2 separate regions of the Homo sapiens genome follow, and region 1 is linked to region 2. Evidence: promoter capture Hi-C in 16 types of primary human blood cells and fetal thymus (Javierre and others, 2016). All regions are on one chromosome and are shown on one strand. The core of a region is centred on a gene start or on the middle of the fragment in contact, and the rest is flanking DNA. Distances in the headings are between cores, read along the strand shown. Region 1 has its middle 23 kb from the start of EN1. Region 2 holds the start of INSIG2 (insulin induced gene 2).

Region 1 (5,946 bases), core at 1,125-3,624, 780 kb after region 2:
ATATATTATATATAATATAATATATAACATATATTATATATAATATAATATATAACATATATAATATATAACATATAGCATATATAATATATAACATATAACATATATTATATATAACATATAACATATATTATATATAACATATAACATATATAATATGTAACATTATATATAACATATATAATATGTAACATTATATATAACATATATAATATGTAACATTATATATAACATATGTTATATATTTCAGCCTCAAGGAAGAGGATACATCCCTACCCACTAAGTGTGGGCTGGGCTGTGCATGATGCGTTTGTTCCCTCCACGGAGTATAGGGGAAAGAGTCACTTTACAGTGTCAAAATCTGACACATACTACCTCAGCTGGGTGATCAAGGTCAGTAGCAACAGTGATAAATCATGTTAGTACATGTCTTTCATATAATGATAAAAATGGCATTTTACCTCAGTGGTCTTCCTCCCCAAAGTCCATAACCCCAGTCTAATCATGAGAAACACATCAAATAGATTCCACAGAGAGACATTCTACAAAACACCTGACCAGTACTGCTCAACTGTCAGGGTCATCAGAAACAGGGGAAGTTTGAGAAACTCTCACAGCCAAGAGAAGCTTAAGGAAATATGTCAAGTAAATGGATGGGATCTTGGAGCAGAAGACTTTAGATAAAAGCTAAGAAAATGTGAATGAACTATGGACTTTAGTTAATCATGTAGCAATATGTAACAAGGGTACCATGCTAAGGTCAATGACAGAGAAAACTGGGTGAGAGAGTCTATGGGAATTCTCTACTGTCTTCTCAATTTCCCTATGAGTTTAAAACTGTTCTAAAAATAAAGCCTGTTAAAATGGTATGGGTTCTAGAAAGTTATAGGTAAAAAGAAAATGATACCTTAAAACTGTCTCTAGATCAGGGTTGGCAAACTTTGTTTGCAAAATATCAGCTAGTAAATATTGTAGGCTTTGAAGCCTTAAGGTGTCTGTTGCGACTACTCAACTCTGCTGTTGTGTGTTACAAGAGCAGCCATATCTTAACAAGTAAGTGTGGCTGACTTCCAATAAAACTTTATTTAGCAAAAACAAAGTCCACAGGCCTCAGTTTGCAAACCCCTGCTCTCATGTATATAAATGAAGTCAAAGTGCTAGGTCACAAATTTCCATCACATTGTGGTGGAAAGCATCAAGTTGTATTGCATCAAATACACATTCATCAGAAACAGCAGAAATGGATTAACATTGAAGTCCATGTCTTGCCCAGAACTTAGCGTTTTTACTACAATTGTGTCTCACTGGGTTATTTTTTACTTCCTTCTTCTGAGAAATGCCTATTTGCAGCTTTTGCTCATTTTCTGCTGGGCTGTCCTTTTTTCTAATGCATTGGCAGGAGTTCTTTATGTATTCTGGATAGTAATCTACCAGCTACAGATGTTGCGTATATTTTCTCCTGGTCTATGGCCTGCCTTTCACTTTTCTTTTGGTGTCTTTTGATGAACAGAGTTAATTTTAATGTCGTCTGGTTTATTAATGTTTCCTTATTGTAGTTAGTGCTTTTTCTCTCTTGTGTTTAAGAAATCATCTCAAACTCAAAGTCAGAAAGATACTCTTCTATATTTTCTTTGAACAGTTTTGAAGTCTTGCCTTTCACCTGTAAATCCTCCGTGTACCTGAGATTTACTGAAAAGTACAGAATATATGGAGGAGGAAGGGATTCGATGTTATGTTTTTCTACGTGGATGCCCAGTAGTCCCATCCCTGTTGCCTCCTCCCATGTTGGTCTGGAGTGCCATCTGCCATGTCACTGAGAGGATTACATTATATAATGCAGGAAATGTGCTTGGCCTAGCCCCCAGCTTCAATTTAGTGAGACTGTGACTCTGAATTCCCCTTCCTTTCCAGGCTCTAGGGGAGCTGGGGCTCACAATCTTCTGCTTTCAATAATGCTTTTCCTAAACATGAAGACCATAATGTAACGAGGGCTTCTGGCTACAGCAAGCTTGCACATCCACCAGTGAACCAGGGTAACAGGACAGCAGCAGAAGGGGTCCTCACCCTCTGAGCACTGCAAAATGAACAGCTCGGCACTCCTCCTGCAGCTCAAACATTTGCTAAAGCACTTTTAAACAGGTCCTCAGTCAAGGACACTGGGAGATGGCAATTAAGTCTTCTTGAGACTCCAGGGGCCCTGGTGGCAGTGGCTGGGAAATCTGACCTGGTGAACAGATAAGAAATGCTTATAATTAGCACATTCAATGTGAAATACATGTGATTGCACAGATTGTAATTTTCCAAACTGTCAAGACAATTCTCCAACAACTCTTCACTCATAAGGAGGCTCAGCATGGCCATTGTATATGCTACTAATTTCCTTGTTTTCATAGAGAGCAGATAGAAACCCCAACTCACCTTGTCTATATGTCCGTCAAATCTAAATTCAAGGAATTGAAATGAATACGGACTTAATCTTACAGATATGTCTTAGATCATTTTCTTATTGAGGTAAAACTTACATTCAATAAAATTTTACAGATCTGAAGTGTCCAGCTTATGAAACTTTTCCGTATATGTACACCTGTATTATTGCCACCTAGATCTGCATATTTAACATTTCCAGCCTCCAGAAAGCTCTCTCATGCCCTTCCTGGTCATGTCTCCCTGCAGAGGTAGCCATTAGTCTGATTTCCATCATGCAGATTAGTTTTGCTTGTATCTGAAGTTCCCGTAAATGGAAGCTTTATCATGTGTACTCTTTTGCATATGGCTTCTTTAGCTCAACATTCTGCCTGAGATTCATCTGGGAGCTTTATGTAGCTAGAGTTTGCTTTTTCAATAGTAAAATGATGAATATGTGATGACACATTGTATGATCCGCCACAATTCATTTTACTATTGATGGACATTTTGGTTGTTTCCAGGTTGGGGCCATTATAAATAAGGCTGCTATGAACTTCAGTGAATATGTGTTTTGGTGCACATGTGTGCTCCTGTATGTTGAGTATAAACCTAGGAGCTGAATCTCTAGATTATGATAGGCATTGGATTTTCTTTCTTCTTTGTTTTGAAAAAAAAAGCAGCTTAATTAAGGTATAATTTATATATAAGAAATCAACCAATTTTAACTTTATAATTTTTGACAAATGTATTCAGTGTCTAAGCATGATGATCATCAAGATAGAGAACTGTTCCATCCCATCCCAAAATTCCTTTGTGCTTCTTTGCAATCACTTTCCCCTTCCCTCAGCCCCTCACAACCTCTGATTTAATTTCTTTCGGTACAGTTTTGCCTTTTCTTGTGCCCAGTTGATGATGAGTCACTCCTGAATCTCTACTGCCAGTTTTGATCTCTCTCCTGAGCTACAAACTTTCATCTCCACCTGCCTCCTAAGTGTCCCCAATGGAGAACTCTAAATGAATGAACCCTAGTGGAACCCAACACCTCTTCCTCCTCCTCCAGCAAAGTTTCCCTCCCTGTGTTCTCTGTCTCCTGAGAGAATCACTCTTAATCCTGGTGGCCAAGCCAGAAAGCTGGTTAGCACTTAATATCGACCTCCTTCCTCTCCCTACCACCCATATCCAATCAATGAGCCCTAGTCAATGCTCTCTAAATATCTCTTGGATCAACCTACTTCTTTCCAGCTCCTCTGTATTAGTTTACCATCGTCTCTGAATTGCCTCAATGTGTCTGACTTTTTGCTTCTTAGCATGAACCCCCACAGTCCATTCTCCACACTAGAGAGGAGCCCTTCTAAAGTGTGAACCTGACCAGGCCACTCTTTAGCATGAAACTTTTCAAGAGCCTCCTGGGACTTGTGGTCACACAGCTGCCTTCACACGAGGCCTCTTCCCTACCTTCATCCCAGCCCCAAACCTGCCTCTGCTGAGCTCTTGAATGTCCTCATGTCCCAGTGAAGAAGTCACTGCTGTGTAAGCTCGGCCTCAACCTGAACAGCAAGTGCAGGTCAAGTCTGACCTGGGCCCCCCCTTTCGTTGTTCCCCTAGCACTTCTTTCTTCACCTCTTCCAGCACTGAATGCAATCACTCTGTCTGTAATTCCATTTATTTTCTGTGTCCTCTTCAACTGAAAGCCATGTGAAGACAGAGTCCATGTCTGTCTAGTTCACTGTCATGCCTGGAAACAAATATTTGCTGAAAAATAAAGAATACTGGTACATAACCTATTCTATTCATTCAGTATATCTATCATCAAATACTTTAAAGGAAATCTATAATTTTTTTGAGAAAATTTTTGCAATCTATGCATCTAACATTTTTCATTATAAAGAAAACAAGATAAGTTAAAAAGCAAATGTCCAACTGGGAGAAAATGTTTCTAAATATATCACTTATAAAGGACTAGTATTTCTAATACATGTAGAACTCTTTTTTAAAAAAATTTTATTATTATTATACTTTAAGTTTTAGGGTACATGTGCACAATGTGCATGTTTGTTACATATGTATACATGTGCCATGTTGGTGTGCTGCACCCATTAACTCGTCATTTAGCATTAGGTATATGGAAATCTATAATTTTAAAGGAAATCTATTATATTACTGCATAAATGTACAATCATTTATTTAAGTAATTGTCAGGCATTAAGATAGCTATCTTTTTTTCTGATTATATCTATTATTATAGTGGGTATCTTTGCACACAGTTCTCAATACACAATCATTATTTAGGGGACTAAAATTTCTAAAAATGAAAATGGTAGGTCAAAATGTATGCATATACATTGGGAACTCCTAGGCCAGTATTTTTCAAACAGATCTTAACTCTTTGGTAGGTTATAAAATGCACCCTGTCCCCAGCTGAGGCTTGCCTCCGTTTGGCGAGTGAGAACATGCACAGAAGCTATTCCTTTCCGTGTATTTAAGTCAATACGTGTGCCCCTTAATATTTTGCAGCAGGGAGGTTCAATTGAAGTAAAAAAGCTAATAAATAAGGCCATAAATGAATCCACCAATTGGTAAGCAGATATAAACATATGGGAAAGCGCCCGGATTCTGGACTTCACATGAGCTATTTTTTTCCCATTAAGATTTTTTAAAAAAAAGATTGGAATTGAAGTTTGTTTGATGAAGGCACAATCCCCCAGTGGGTGTTTCCTTGTCCCTTGGAGTCAGGAAATATCACTCATCTTAGGTGGGTCCTTTGATGTCAACTTCCTGAAATTAATTCTCAGAGCTATTTATGACAATATAAACCAATTACGGCAATATAAATCTTCAGGTTCTTGGAACCCAAAATGGTAAACGTTCCCTGAATTGGATAGAGGCTGACCATGTCAGAAAACCTTGGAAGAAAGTTTGAAGTAGAATGGGGGGACTGTTGGAGCACCACACATATCATAAAGGAATCTGGCACTGGGTCCTTGCTGTCTGCCTGCTAGCTGTGAGAGGCGTGTTTCTCAGTGAGCCTCTGTTCCAAAATTCATAAAATAGAGCTATAAAGGCCTCCTTATAGATCTTGCCTTTTCATTCAGAGTATCAAAATGAGGCACAGTATGGAGAAGGGCTTTGTAACCATGAAGTTATCTACAAAGGCTTGGTGATGTTACTTGGATTAACCAGCCCTTGGGTCGACTTTTCAAAACAGGAGGGAAGGCTAGGGGAGGATCAGGTTCCTAGGGTGTTTTTGGTTGTATCCTAAAATCCCTTGTTCTCTTGGATACAGTATAAGCACTGTTAACATTCAACATTGCTCCTGTGGTTTCTGTGTTACAAACAGCAACAGAAGGTAGCAAGTCCAGTAGCCAAGCCCCCCAGCACAGAGAGAGTATGAACTTCAGACTCAGCAGACCCAGGTTTGAATCTCAGCTTCATCACCGGTTAACTGCTCTCTGAGTGCATCTATGAATTGGGGATAATGACACCTTATTGGGAGGGCCATATGAATGATACAATGCAATAGTTGTGTGAACGTAGTGTCTG
Region 2 (5,740 bases), core at 14-2,513:
TTTCATCTAGAACATTCAAGTCCATTGTAATCTTACCACATCCATACACGTTTTGGGTTAAGCCACCTCCAAATGGAATAGCTCAATAACTAATACACTCAAGAGAGATTATTTTTTCTCTCTTTTTAAAAAGAGTTGCTTAAAAAAAACAAATTCAGGGGGCAGCTCACGCCTGTAATCCCAGCACTTTGGGAGGATGAGGCGGGCGAATCACGAGGTCAGGAGTTTGAGACCAGCCTGGCCAATATGATGAAACTCCATCTCTACTAAAAATACAAAAAGTAGGCAGACATGGTGGCATGTACCTGTAGTCCCAGCTACTGGGGAGGCTGAGGCAGAAGAATCACTTGAACCCGGGAGGCAGAGGTTGCAGTGAGCCGAGATCATGCCAGTGCACTCCAGCCTGGGTGACAGAGAGAGACTCCGTCTCAAATAAATAAATAAATAAAAATAAATAAAAATTCAGAATAGGGAAGCAACTCCTCCTTATGACGAGTACCTTTCGGCACTTATATGGGCTTGCTTTTGCATTGATGGCACCACTTTCATTCAAAAAAAAAAGTTCGCTTGCACAATCTGCAAAGATCTGTTTGGCTTGGTTTCATGTTCTAAAAGTATGGTTTTAGATTAAATGAAAAATAATACTTCTGAAAAATAAGCGGTTATAAGGTTTTTAAGTTTTCTTTATGTTGGTGTAAACTTATAAAGCCCTTCCTATGAAAACTGTCCCCCAAATCACATTACTTGGTCGTCCTCGAGGAACGATTTTGAATGAAAAGCACATAAAGTGCTGTAGCATGGAGACGAGAGACAAATAACTATGCCCTTCTCCCAAAATAAGTTATGACTTACTAGGGGAGGAAAAGGAGCAAAGAGTATAAAGCCCGGTCCTCTGCGGGAAGTACCCGGAGGCCTGCCCCGGAACGCGCTCCTTTCGGCTACGAGATGAGGGGCACGCAGACGGACGCGCCCCTCGGTGAGTGTGCGTGTATCAGTGCATGATTCCTTTACTCCGCCCACAGGGTCTGGGCATCCGTCATTACCTACGGCTGCCTGGTCAGCAAACAACAGCAGATCCGACAACCGCCAGTCACCTCGACGGTCCACGCCCACCGCTAGCCTCCAGTTTCCCGCAGACCGGAAGCCCTTTTGCCCCGGCTCGCAGGTCCACGTCTTATTGACAGCAGGAACCGGAAGCTCTTCTGCCCCGATCGCCTGCGCGCGGCCTCGTTGGCCGCACAGGCGCAGTGGAGCTCGGGCGGAGTTGTGGGAGTGGAGGAGGAAGAGGCGGTAGGGGGTACGGGGGCTGGTCCCAGAAGATGGCGGAGGCGGGGGTGAGTTGGGGGTCTCCCGGCGAAGCGCGGGTGACGTGGTGCTGAGGAAAGCGGCCTGAGGAGGAGGGTGGCCCTTGGGAAGAAGAACTACTTGTGTTTTTGCAGCCTGGGAACCCTGGTGGCAGGTGCGGGGAGCCAGGACCACTGATGGGCCTGCAGGGCAAGGGGCTCCGCTTACCTGAGAGGGGTCCGCAAGGTCCAGAAGGGGACTGCGGGATCGGGGAGGGGGTATAGGAGGGGTCGAGGCTCCCCGGACAGTGGATGAGTGTCTGAGCGGGAAGAAGGCTGGAGGACGGCGAGAAGGGCGACCCAATGGTCTGATGAGGTGGAGGTCAGCGAGCTGTCAAGCATAGAGCTGCCAGGACTTGGGGGCTTGTAGCCTGGGAGAGAAGACTCAGACTTGGGCGGGGATTGGATCCAAAGAAGACAGGTTGTCGTAGTAAGTTTATAATCCACTAAGGAGATAGGGCATTGGGTTGAGGAGTAATACTCTGGCATTTTTGACTGGAATTGGTTACCTATGGAATAGGTGTTTCGGTAAAGCCAAATAATTCTTGCCAGGGCCTAGAAGTGGATTTGATGATAATTACTAGATTTTAGGGTTGCTTAGTGGGGATTGGCAATATGGAGAAGGAAAGCAGTGTGGATTATGGGAGTGGGCGCGGGCAATGGCGCTAACACTTAAGTGATAATGACCCATGTCCAGTTAACGTTGGAAAAAGTTGTTAAAGTATGATATTAGCTAGATGCTCTAGGAAAATATACCATGAAGAACTTGCTGTTTTGTAGGATTGATGAAGAAATGCTTTAAAAAGGAATGGTTAGGCTTGGCAGCTGGGCCACTGAAACTGTTTGGTATCAGTATTGCGGTGGAGCTGAGGACTGCAGGGGAATGCGTGCTCCCGTCCTGGTGCAGAAAAAATAAAAGCAGCCAGACAGTAGCTAGATGGTGTTTTGTAACTTTTGGGTTTGGCCCTGATAGTGAACCACTGAATGAAGATGGATGAAGGGAATGCTACTAATGGGGGCCCCAAAGAAAACAAAAATCAGACGTGTGCTCTTCCTGTTTTCTGTCTTTCATTCTTTCCCTGTACTTTGTGCTCAGTACTGTGTTTTGTCATTGTGTTATGTCGTAGTTCTCAGTTCACATCTGCTGTACAGTGACCAAGCTGTGAATCATGTCCACTCGGGAAAGAGGTTGATTCTGTTTAACTGACAACTGTTGCTTTTGCAGATGGTCACACGGAAAAGGAAAGAATAAAATGCAGTTCAGTAGTTTAAAGAGTTTTCTTTGTTCTCAGAAACTTATCTCGAAACGATGGAGTAACTTTTTTAGGCACTGAGATGTGACATTTAAAACCTGTAAGGGGCTGTAAATGCAGCTAACTTACTGGTTTCTATGTTTGGGTTTTAATGTTGAGAGGAAAGAGTTGCAGTGTTTATAAGGCAAATATTGCTTTTCTTCCTAGAAATTTTTAACGTCTCTAGCCCATGATACATGTAGATGTGTTTTTATTTAGGGAGCATTAAACTGTTGCATTGATTTAAGTCTGTTTTTTTCTAATGTTAGTGCTTATTCTATTTCAAGAATGCTATTCTAATTAAGAGAGCATATGATGAAAAATATGTGAGGTAGTAATTTAACTTTATTATTTAGTAGCTTACGTGACCTAAGCACCTGAAGAAACAGGGTTATCTGAGGGAGTAAAAATACTTCTTTTACGGCTAATCATTGGAAGAGGAATGGTCTTGTCATTTGGTTTTAGGGGGTGTTGCAGTTGTTACAATGCAACAGGTTCTTAAGGTTACTAGAAGATTTTGTATGTGTGTTTGTTTTCAAATGCTTGTTGCCTCTAAGTTGTTTCAGTGGCCAACATGAACCTTGATTTTTATTCACGAAGCTCATAATCACTTATAACTCTTTTTTAACCTGAAAGTAATAATATCAATCCATTAATAGGCAGCCATACACCTGGAATAATGTTTTTCCAGTATTGATGATTCATCATTGATCTATGCAAATTATTTCAACTTTTTTTCTTTTTGTTTAGTATTGTACTTTCCAGAAATTTTAGGCCAGGGCTCAGCGTAGAATTTTTCAAGTCTGGTGGAAAGTTTTTCTTTGTGAATTGTTGAAAACATTATTTTGGTATTAATAGTAGTTTACCAACATGATTTTAAAAACGGTTTCTTGTGTGGCACTTAAATTGTTTTGTACCATGTTTGTGAATGGAAGCAGTGTGGTGAAGCAGGAAGAACTCCGGACATGGGGTCAGAGTGGGTGAGCCTAGTCCTGGTGCTACCTGGTAACAGTTCTGTGATCTTGGAAAGTTACTTAACCTATTTTATTTTGTAAAATGGAAACTAACAACACCTGCCTATTTACCAAGATTGTTTTCGAGAATCTATTGACATATTGTCCTTTAAACAGTATCTTTATACCAGAGACTTTTTCCCTGGTCAGCAAATTATTTGTCAAGTAATCTAAATTTTTCAAATATAGATTTTTAAAAAAAATTTTGGAGCATCAAGTTTATCATTAATGTAAGACTAATATTTAAAGATATAGATCCACTTTGTTTTAAGAAAATGGTATCAGTACAAAATCAGAAAAACAAACTTCAAAGTAAACTAAGGGAGCTTACTTTCCCTTGAAAATAACCCACTCCTCTGACTCCTCTAGTGTGCAACTGATATTATAAACATGCTTTTAAAGGAATTTCATTGTTGCATGGTAGGGGGTGAAATGGTTTTGTGGACGCCTCTATCCCTTTGATGAGTCTGGTCATTTTCTGGCATTCACTATACACGTTTGTGGTAATAAGAACTGATGGTACTGTCTTAATCTTGTTAATCCAGTTGACTACTTTGCATGTCATTGGCCTTGCTAATAGAGTGAGAGAATTGTTAGATTACTGATTCTTTACTTTGTTTGGATCATGGACTTTTTTGAGTACTTTATATAAATTATGGAACTTTCATCCCAGAAAAAAATGCATATATATACAACTTTTTTGTTTTGTTTCGCATGGGGGTCTCATACCCCTTGGAATAGATGATTTCCCAGTTCCCTGCTATTTCTTAAAGCTTTTATTTTTTGTCACCAGTAATTATATACTATTGTATTATGATGTAGTTACAAAATTAGCTTTTTGAATCTCATTCAAATAAATGTCAAGCAAATGTGTTATTTTTAAGGAAAACTTTTGGGGCGAAGTAGAAAACTAAACAAGCACTGCCAGGAAAGGTTAAATAAGCAGCTGTGGTAGAAAACATAAATAAACAGAAAGTCTCTAGCTGTCTTGAAATAGAATGAAGTCTGTAGCAATCAGTGGCTCTCATTGTGGGGACAGTTTTGGTTATCACAAATAGGGGAGGGGGCATTTAGTGGGTGGGAGCCAGGGATGCTAAATGTTTTGCAATGCTTAGAACAGTCTCACACAGCAAATAATTGTCCTGCCTAAAATATCAGTGCCCTTTGACAAATGCTGGTCAGTGTGAGATGGGGGCTAGCATGACTGAAATAGCTTTTTTAAACTGAAGTTATTTTCCTTTTTAAAAATACTATTAAACATAAAATACCCCTTTCCATTAATTCCCTTTTGGAAAAATCACAAACAGAAACAAATGATACGCTGTCTCAATGTGGGTTACTCAAAGTATGCCCATCTTCTAGCAGCTGTTAGCAGCACGTGAGGGCAACGTGCTGTGTCTACTGGGATCTGGGGAAGTAAAGAGTCAACTAATGTTCTTATACAGAGTGTTAGTTTGCTATTTTTTCTTTTTACTTTAAAACATTTTCACACCTTGATCTAGTACTATTAAAGAAAATTTCAAGGTGATTTTACATTTATTCTCATCATCTTTGTGCAATTGTATAGTCACCTGCTTGTTTTGGCTTACTATCTGAGAGTGTATTATAGTTGAGATGGTATTTCAACATCTAACCATCTTTTCAGTAACCAAACACTTTTATATAGAACCATCTGCCGAAAAAGAAGTCTGAGCAGTTGAGATGGAATGGAATTCAAGGTATAGAGGCAAGAGGATGGGTTTTGGAATCAGACCTGAAGTGGAATTTCAGTTTTGATACTGCATGTCATGTGACCATAAGCAAATTGCTGAATCTCTTTGACTTGGTAGCCTCATCTGTAAAATGAGGATGATAATGTCTACCTTTATGTTTGTTTTGAAGAGTAGAGTTACTATATGTCTGGCAGGGAGTAGGCCTTCCATAAATGGGTGCCCTATAAAGAATAATGATGATGATGATGAGGAGGAGAGTTCTGTAGCTACTGAACCTTGCTAAAAGCAACCAGATGATGATGATGATGATGATGATGAGGACGAGGAGAGTTCTGTAGCTACTGAACCTTGCTAAAAGCAACCAGATTATGATGATGATG

The links. The method cuts DNA at HindIII sites, captures the fragments that hold promoters and counts their contacts. A CHiCAGO score of 5 or more calls a contact.
Region 1: a fragment that was not itself captured here is called in contact with the fragment with the promoter of INSIG2 in region 2 in 2 of 17 cell types (M0 macrophages and total CD4 T cells); the score reaches 5.6 in M0 macrophages.

The regions. Positions count from the first base shown.
Region 1 is chr2:118,867,976-118,873,921 of GRCh38, forward strand. No RefSeq gene overlaps it. Among named protein-coding and RNA genes, the nearest start is that of EN1, 23 kb to the left of the region's middle. The HindIII fragment of the contact is 736 bases long and covers 2,007-2,742 here.
Region 2 is chr2:118,087,208-118,092,947 of GRCh38, forward strand. INSIG2 (insulin induced gene 2) reads left to right here and starts at 1,264. Exons shown (of 6, transcript NM_016133.4): 1 at 1,264-1,334. It overlaps LOC107985940 (a long non-coding RNA gene), which reads right to left and starts at 1,224. Exons shown (of 3, transcript XR_001739662.3): 1 at 1,044-1,224. RefSeq lists enhancers at 969-1,018, 1,029-1,218. The HindIII fragment of the contact is 7,859 bases long and covers 1-4,419 here.